Linked DNA regions of Homo sapiens: region 2 is linked to region 1. The links are contacts of gene promoters, found by promoter capture Hi-C in human tissues and cell types (Jung and others, 2019). All regions are on one chromosome and are shown on one strand. Each heading gives the region's core, a stretch centred on a gene start or on the middle of the fragment in contact. The rest is flanking DNA. Distances are from core to core; before and after follow the strand shown. Region 1 holds the start of TALDO1 (transaldolase 1). Region 2 holds the start of POLR2L (RNA polymerase II, I and III subunit L).

Region 1 (4,216 bases), core at 674-3,173:
CAATTCCATCTTGTTTCTAACCTTCAAACGGTCCTTGTCCATTACTGGCCATAGGCCAAACAAGTCTTGGGAAGGAATTTAATTTATAGTTTAAATAATAGCCCTTCCCCAAAACTAGACTGTTCTTGTAAAATGAATGAAAGGCCACCAGCCACCAAGTTAGAATGAGAGGGGCTGGAAGTCTAAATATTATCAGCCATTATTCTGGAGGTCATAAGATAAGATTTGCAACTTCCCCAAGATATCAACACTACTGTGAACCTAGGGTTGGCCTTTTTTTTTTTTTTAAATGGAGTCTCGTTCTGTAGCCCAGGTTAGTGTACAGAGGGACAATCTCGGCTCACTGCAACCTCCACCTCCCAGGTTCAAGCCATTCTCCTGCCTCAGCCTCCCAAGTAGCTGGGATTACAGCCATGTGCCACCACGCCTGGCTAATTTTGTATTTTTAGTAGAGACGGGGTTTTGCATGTTGGCCACGCTGGTCTCCAACTCCTGACCTCAAGTGATCGCCTGCTTTGGCCTTTCAATGTGCTGGGATTCCAGGCCTGAGCCACCGCGTCAGCCTAGGATTTGCCTTTTAAGAAGTCTTTTCCGCCGGGCGCGGTGGCTCACGCCTGGAATCCCAGCACTTTGGGAGACTGAGGTGGGCGGATCACGAGGTCAGGAGATCGAGACCATGCTGGCCAACATGATGAAACCCCGTCTGTACTAAAAATACAAAAATTAGCCGGGCGTGGTGGTGAGCGCCTGTAATTCCAGCTACTCGGGAGGCTGAGGCAGGAAAATCGCTCGAACCCGGGAGGCGGAGGTTGTAGTTAGCCAAGATCGCGCCACTGCACTCCAGCCTGGGCAACAAGGGCGAGATTCCGTCTCAAAAAAAAAAAAAAGTCTTTTCAGGTTTTTGCATTTCTGACAACCGGATGGCCCCACCTGGACCTGCCAACCAGTTGTGTGGCCTCTACCCAGGGACTGACTCAGCATAAGCGGACAGCTTCGACTCCCTGTGATTTCATCCCTAGCTGACCAGTCAGCACTTCTGACTCACTGGCCCCCTACCCACCAAATTATTCTTAAATACTGGGATCCCCGAGTTTTGGGGAGACTGATTTGAGGAATAAAACTCTGGTCTCCCGAACAATCGGCTCTGTGTGAATTATGCTTTCTCTATTGCAATTCCCCTGTCTTGACAATAGACTCTGTCCCGGCAGCTGGCAAGGCGAACCCATGGGGCGGTTACAGTGTCTGCAACGCAGACACAAGCGACAGAGACTTGATCAGAATATACAAGGAACTCTGCAAGTCAGCGATGGTAAGAAGCAGGGCAGCTGGGCCTCCTACGCCTGCCTCGCCGTTCGGTCCCCCGGACACCTCTGGGCTTAGGACTCAGGGGAACAGATTCCCAGAAGCAGGTTCCCCGCCGCGTCCGGCGCCCGGGCTCTGCAGCCGCCCCCTGCTCTGCCTCCTGCACCCGCAGGGCGTCCCCCGCCGCTCCCTCCCCTGCTTCCTGCAGCGGCCCCCGACCCCAGTCCTGGCCCCACCATGGATCCTGCATCGCCGGGTTCGGCCCTGGCGGGTTCAGCCCCGCAGAGTCGGCACCCGGGCCAGGTCCATCTCCTCCAGCCCTCCCGGTGCGTCCCGCGGGGCAGGAAGGAGGCGAGGCCCAGCCGCCCCGTGTCGTGCAGGTGTTTTCCCGGGCCCGTCCGCGGCGGCTGCTGAGGACCTGGGGAGACCCAGCCTGTAGGATCCGCAGCTGCGGTGCGCGGCCGGCAGTGGCGCTCGGGCTTCGTCCCCGGGGGCGGGGCTTCGTCCAGGCGCGCAGGGACCAGCGGGCCTCGCCCTCCCGCGCCGCTTTCCGATTGGCAGCCGCCCGCGGGGCATTGTGGGCCGTCCGCGCGCCCGTCCCGTCGCCGCCGCCGCCGCCGCAGACCCCTCGGTCTTGCTATGTCGAGCTCACCCGTGAAGCGTCAGAGGATGGAGTCCGCGCTGGACCAGCTCAAGCAGTTCACCACCGTGGTGGCCGACACGGGCGACTTCCACGGTGAGGACGGCGCGGAGCCCGGGCGCGGCGCAAGCGCCCTCCAGAGGCCCCGGCGCCCCGATTTCCCCGGGTCTCCCGTTCCGGGACGCGGACCGGGTGGCGGTGCCCCGGGCGGCTCGTTCCGGGAGGAATGAGCGCAGGTGCCGGATGTTGGGGCCAGGGACAGCCGTGAGGGGAGCGGGGCCCGGGTCGGCCGTGAGAGGCGCAGGGCCAGCGGCGACCGTGAGGGGAACGGGGCCCGGGTCGGCCGTGAGGGAGCAGGGCCGGGGGCAGCCGTGAGGAGCTGGGGTCAGCCGTGAGGGGCTCGGTGCTGGGGTCAGCGGTGCGGGCGGTACTGACGGGTCCTTGCGAGCCGTGGGGCACGAAGCCGGAGCCCCAGCCTCGCCCTCCGCCCAGGGTGGGGTCGGCTGCGCCCTCAGACCCCGCACCCGGGACGGGCTGTGGGCAGCCCGCGGGAGCCCCTCTGTGCACCTTCATGGGTCGAGGCAGCTTTCAGAGCCTTTGAGTTCAGGAGAGATTCAGGGTAGAGCTTCGAGCTGACTTCCACGTGGCCAGTTTGTGGTCAGCGAGATGCAATTTTGTTGGGCTGATGTCTGCAGAGCGGGGACATCAGCTAGCTCTGACCAGAAGCTGCCAGTGCTGCCATCGCCCTTGAGCCCTGCGGTGCCCAGTGGGACAACTCCGTGGGCGGCAGGTGCCCGGCCTGCTGGACAGCCACCGCCAGACGCACCGGGTGGGTAAAAGCCGGTGCCCATGAAAGCACAGGGTTGGTACACTGTTAAATACTGGATTTTCCTGGGCTTGAGTTGTTTACATTGGAGAGAACTTGGAAAATACAAAGAAGGATTATTTATTAATACTTAGCTCTTCTGTCCTCTGCAGTGCAGAGTAGACGAGCCTTGTGTCTATGTTTTGTTGAGAACAAGTAATATTTTTTAAGAAAATCATGAAACGCTTCATGGATGAATGCTGCGAGCACCTAATACGGAAGTGACTTCCTCTCTTTTCTGCTTTCTCATGGTGACTTGAGAAACAGGCTTTAATTCCTCTTTGGTAACTGAGTAAGGGCATTGTTTATCTAGCAGAGCCTAGAGAGTGAATTGGCATGTTTGGCTGCTTAACCATAAAATATGGGGATTCAGTGACTGGCTTGGGGTGCCACAGTCTGCTCCGGACCCCTCTTTGGGAGATCCAAAGCTAGAGCTGTGAATCCCTCACACACACAGCCCCCCCGTTGTAGTCCAGACCTCTCTTCATAAGAAAGAAAGCTCCAGAAAAGGGGCTACACATTTTTCTGCTGCTCAGTTTTTTCCCTTCTTAGCACTGAGAATAATTTGCAGTTTGCCTGGTGGACAGAGCGCTCATCTGTATTGTTCCTTACTGGCCCTCACCAGTTAGGGCAGAGCTGGTGCGGAGTGTCAGGTCCATTACACTTGGCAGTGCAGGGCCAATAAAGATGGATTTTCCTAAACCCACACCCACAGGAGGGCTGGGGAGTCCTGGGTTTCTGGTTTTGTTTTGTATTGTTTTTTAAGAAAACTTCTGGCCCAGCGAGGTGGCTCACGCCTGTAATCCCAGCACTTTGGGAGGTTGAGGCAGGTGGATCACGAGGTCAGGAGTTCGAGACCAGCCTGACCAACATGGTGAAACCCCGTCTCTACTAAAAATACAAAAATTAGCTGGGTGCGGTGTTGCATGCTTGTAATCCCAGCTACTTGGGAGGCTGAGGCAGGAGAATTGCTGAACCCAGAAGGCGGAGGTTGCAGTGAGCCAAGATCACACCACTGCACTCCAGCCTGGGCGACAGAGCAAAACTCCGTCTCAAAAAAAAAAAAAAAAAAATCTTCTAAACCCAAGTTGTGACATTTTTTTTTAATGAATATTAACAAAAAAATACATTCATTGATAGTATATGTTCATAAATGTTATATAGTTGTAAAATAGTCTGTTGGGTTTGTGATCTGTAGTTTGTGAAGTGAAGGTTCTTAACTCCTTGTGGGAGGGAGGCACAGGCCTCTGGAAATAGAATCAAAGCTGTGAATGCTCTTCCCACAATGTGATCCTCCCCATTTTGCATTCAGTTTAAGGATCCCTGGACCCTGAAACCCATTTTTGCCCCAATGGGCCTTGGTTTTGTTTTAATTTTGTAAAAGCCATTTGCTAAAAGCTGACTTTATC
Region 2 (3,943 bases), core at 1,432-3,931, 95 kb after region 1:
TGCCCAGGCGGGTCTTGAATTTCTGGACTCAAGTGATCCTCCTGCCTTGGCCTCCCAAAGTCCTGGGATTATAGGGGTGAGCCCCTTTGCCCGGCCTAAATCTGGCTCTTCAGATTCCGAGAGAGAGGGTACAGGAGCCTCTCTGCTCAGCCTGAAGAACACCCAGAAGGAGGGAACCTCAAAGAGCCCCGAGATGGAAGGCTCTCCTGGCAGCGCCTCCTGCAGGGGTGCCTGTGGAACAGGCTGGCCCCAGGGCTAGGAGAGTTCATGGCCCAGTCTGCTTCACTGGGCTGCCACAGTGTGAAAGCTGGGCCTAGACCTGGCTCCTGACATCCTAGTGAGGGCTGGGACCTTAGTGGTTCTGAAAGACCTTTACTGGATGGTTCCTTCCAGAGTGGGGTATCGGATACACACACACTGCGGCCAGGCATTACGCCAGCTCCCGGATGCCTCAGCCTCGTGAATTCGGGGCAGGACGCTCAGGGCCCATGGTCAGCACAGCGGGTGGGTGGGTTCCAGCGTGGTCACTTCTCCAGGGGTGCATAATTGAGCAGCTTCTCGATCAGGTCCACGTGGGCCAGCAGCATCCGGCGGCAGCAGTAGCGCTTCAGGCCCAGGGCATCCAGCGCATCCCTGTGTCGAGGGGAGGAGCAGAGGCCAACTGAGTTCTCTACGGTCTGCAAAGGCCTGGAGCCCACATCCAACCTGCCTCTCACTGCCTGCTGGCCTCACCCCCCCCGCCACCGGCAAGGCGAACAGATTCACCCGGCTCAGAAGCTGAGATCTAGCAGTATGATCCTGGCTGGAGTAACCTGGAAATGCCCAGAACCCTGGGTGGAGCGTGAGGAGCCTCCTCTCCCACCTACTCTGGCTGTACGTGTGTGTGTATAACGTATGTAAGAAATGTAAATGAAATGAAAACGAAGTAATTGCGGGGAGCTTAGAAAACCAAGACCACCAAGGTGCTGATGTGCAGCCACCTCATCCAGCACTGGCCACGGCAGGGTAGCTCTCCAGGGGCCTGCCCTTAGCTGGTTCACCCCCACCCCAGCCAGAGCAAGCCCTGCTCTGCCGCTGTGGGGTCTTTCCTCACCTCTGCTTCCTTCCATCAGAGAGAGACTGCTTCTCCACGGAGCCACCTCTCCCACTTCCCAAGCCAATTAGAAGCTTTCATTTCCCTGGGACCTAGCTCCAGTCACCCTCAAGACCTCCAGAAAACTCCCACACCGATGGCTCCAATGTGCAGAGACACAGAAGCTTGGGAAAGGGGAGGCCACATGGGAGGCCCCTGCCGTTCCTATCCGGGGAAAGGGTCTGGACAGGCCGCCAGCCACTCAGTCTAGCAGCCCACTCGCTTTCCTCGTTTGTCCAGCAAGCTGCACCAAGTGCCGATGGCAGGCTGGCGCACACAAGCCCAGGGCTTCACATGTGACGAAGACTCAGTGGGCGAGGGTCAGACTCCAGCGGGGGCACCAAGACTCAGGCACCGTGGTGACAGCAGCACCAAGGGACAAGCACAGGAGAAAGACGCCTCCCCTACAAAGCCTGATGAGGGTGGTCAGCAAGTCTACCCTGCATTTCTTTTTCTGTGTGTGTGTGTGCGTGAGACGGAGTTTCACTCTCTCTTCCAGGCTGGAGTGCAGTGGCGTGATCTTGGCTCACTGCAACCTCCACCTGCCTCCCAGACTCAAGCGATTTTCTCGTCTCAGCCTCCCAAGTAGCTGGGACCACAGGTGTGCACCGCCATGTCCGGCGAATTAAAAAGATAGAGCCAGGCGCGGTGGCTCACGCCTGTAACCTCAGCACTTTGGGAGGTCGAGGCGGGTGGATCACCTGAGGTCAGGAGTTCCAGACCAGCCTGGCCAACATGGCGAAATCCCATCTCTACTGAAAATACAAAAATTAGCCGGGCGTGGTGGCACACGCCTGTAGTCCCAGCTACTCGGGAGGCTGAGACAGGAGAATTGCTGGAGCCCAGGAGGCGGGGGTTGCAGTGAGCCGAGATCGCGCCACTGCACTCCAACCTGGGCGACGGAGCGAGACTCCGTCTCAAAAAAGAAAAATAAAATAAAATAAATTTCTGGAGATCAGGGTCTCCCCAGGTTGTCCAGGCTGGTCTCGACCTCCTGGGCTCAAGCAAGCCTCTCGCCTCGGCCTCCCAAACTGCTGGGATTACAGATGTCAGCCGCCGCGCCCGCCCGTCCTGCAGCGAGGTTTGCAGGACATGGGGTGGGCCTGGGGGCAGAGATGGGAATAGGGCGGAGGCCAAGGGCTTTACTGCGGGTGACAAGACGCCTGCGACCCGCCAGGCCACCTAGAATCCCCAGGACACCACTGGTTTGAAGCCCAACTCCGTTCTCTTCCCCAGACTTCAGGGGATAAGGTTCTCCCGAAAGCAGATCACAGAGCGGGGCTGGAGAAGCCGGGCCTGAAGCTGCTCATGGGGCGCTGGCCTCAGGCAGCGCTGCGCCTCCCGCCCCGGCGCGCACCCCAGGGCGGACTCAGCCCCCAGCCCCGGCCCGCGCCCCACGGCGGACTCAGCCCCTAGCCCCGGCCCGCGCCTCACCCCTCGGTGTACTCGGCCTGCAGCAGCCCCAGGTAAGCCTCCCACTTGTTGCCGACGATCTTGCCACAAGTGAAGCAGCGTACAGGGATGATCATGGCGGCGGCGCGTCCCAGACTGCCCGGCCCGGCCCGGCCGCACGCGAAGAACCCCCCCAGGCCCCGCCCCGGGCGCGTCCACTGTTGCGGGAGAATCGGCTCCGCTCGTTCTCCGCTGTTCCGGCCGTCCCTCCACCGGCCCCGCCACCGCTGGCCGCAGTTTCCGCCGCGATAGGGGCTTCCCGTGCGTCCCGGGGCTCCTGGGCCTGTGCGTCCCGGGGCTCCCGGGCCCGCGCGGCCGCGGCAGCAGCAGACCGCACACCCCCGCCCACCGTCTTGGTGCATCCCGGCGCTACGGCGTCTGAGCAGGGCCGTAAAGCTGCGGCGGCGGTTCGCGTTTCTCGTGTCCGCTTGACTGACAGCTGCGCGGCGGGAGCGGGCGGCGCGAGCGGGAGGCGGCGGCGCAGGTACTGCGCCTGGGGGTTGTGGGGGCGTGCGGCCAGGGTCCCGTGGCCGGAGGTGTCCGACCGGGAGCGGCTGGAGCCGGACGCGAGCGGGGCGCGCGAGTTCGAGCCCAGAGCCGACACGCAGCAACAAGTGGGGTCCGGCGCGGGGGCTCGGGGAGAGGGCGGGCGGGGGCCGGGGCGGGTCTTCCTGCCGCCCCTCCTGGCCGCGCCGAGTAGTGGGTTCCTCCGCCTCGGCCTCTGCCCGCGGGGTGTCCGGGGCTCTCGGCGCTGAGTTCGGGGGTCCCATTCTGGACGCGGCCCAGCCCCTAGGGGCGCCGCCCTGGCCTCAGCTGCGCAATTACAGCCCCCGCCGGCAGCTCCCCGCCCCGGGCTCCTGTCCGCGTTCTTTCCGCTCTTTCCCGGGAATGGGGTCGGGGTGCGCCCTCCCGGGTCCCGGCTCTGCTGGCTGCTCGCCGTCCCGAGCTCCCGACGCTCAGACGCGCCTCTGAGCACGGGGAGAGGGGACCCGGGAGGGAGGTCGGGGAGGGAGTCGTGGAAGAGGTGCTTTTTGAGCTGAACCTGGAAGACCCCGGCACAGGGGATCCCTGGGCAGACTCCCGGAGGCTGCACTGGCAGGACCCCCTGAAGGCCTCAGCTCTGGCTTGCCCTGGAGCTCAGGGCCTACGGACGACGAGGGACGAGGAGCCCGTGTCTCTCGGATGGAGTGCGGGGGGGCTGGCACCAGCACCCTTCTTGCTGTGCCCCTGGGGTGGGGGTGAGGAAATGGGGGGTCGGTGTGCAGTGAGAGGCAAAGAAGGCTCCTTGGAGGTGCGAGGTGGGCTGTGGGGGTGGGTGGGCCGCAAAGCGGCACCCATGGGGGGCTCTGGGCTGGTTTG

Evidence for each region. The method cuts DNA at HindIII sites, captures the fragments that hold promoters and counts their contacts. A contact is called where the count stands out against the background at its distance.
Region 2: a contact is called between the fragment with the promoter of POLR2L here and the fragment with the promoter of TALDO1 in region 1, in 9 of the 25 tissues and cell types used here (adrenal gland, dorsolateral prefrontal cortex, heart left ventricle and 6 more).

What each region holds. Positions count from the first base shown.
Region 1 is chr11:745,541-749,756 of GRCh38, forward strand. It overlaps TALDO1 (transaldolase 1), which reads left to right and starts at 1,924. Exons shown (of 8, transcript NM_006755.2): 1 at 1,924-2,038. The coding sequence starts at 1,942. It overlaps LOC105376509 (a long non-coding RNA gene), which reads left to right. Exons shown (of 3, transcript XR_930962.3): 3 at 1,209-1,422. RefSeq lists enhancers at 908-1,556, 1,195-1,254, 1,557-2,205 and silencers at 1,385-1,984, 2,045-2,334, 2,435-2,524. The HindIII fragment of the contact is 22,782 bases long and covers 1-4,216 here.
Region 2 is chr11:839,848-843,790 of GRCh38, forward strand. It overlaps POLR2L (RNA polymerase II, I and III subunit L), which reads right to left and starts at 2,682. Exons shown (of 2, transcript NM_021128.5): 1 at 2,567-2,682; 2 at 1-633. The coding sequence starts at 2,661. The coding sequence ends at 525. TSPAN4 (tetraspanin 4) reads left to right here and starts at 3,005. Exons shown (of 9, transcript NM_003271.5): 1 at 3,005-3,068. RefSeq lists silencers at 166-215, 2,444-3,073, 3,184-3,273, 3,294-3,523, 3,509-3,677 and enhancers at 941-1,685, 1,686-2,431, 2,432-3,175. The HindIII fragment of the contact is 28,886 bases long and covers 1-3,943 here.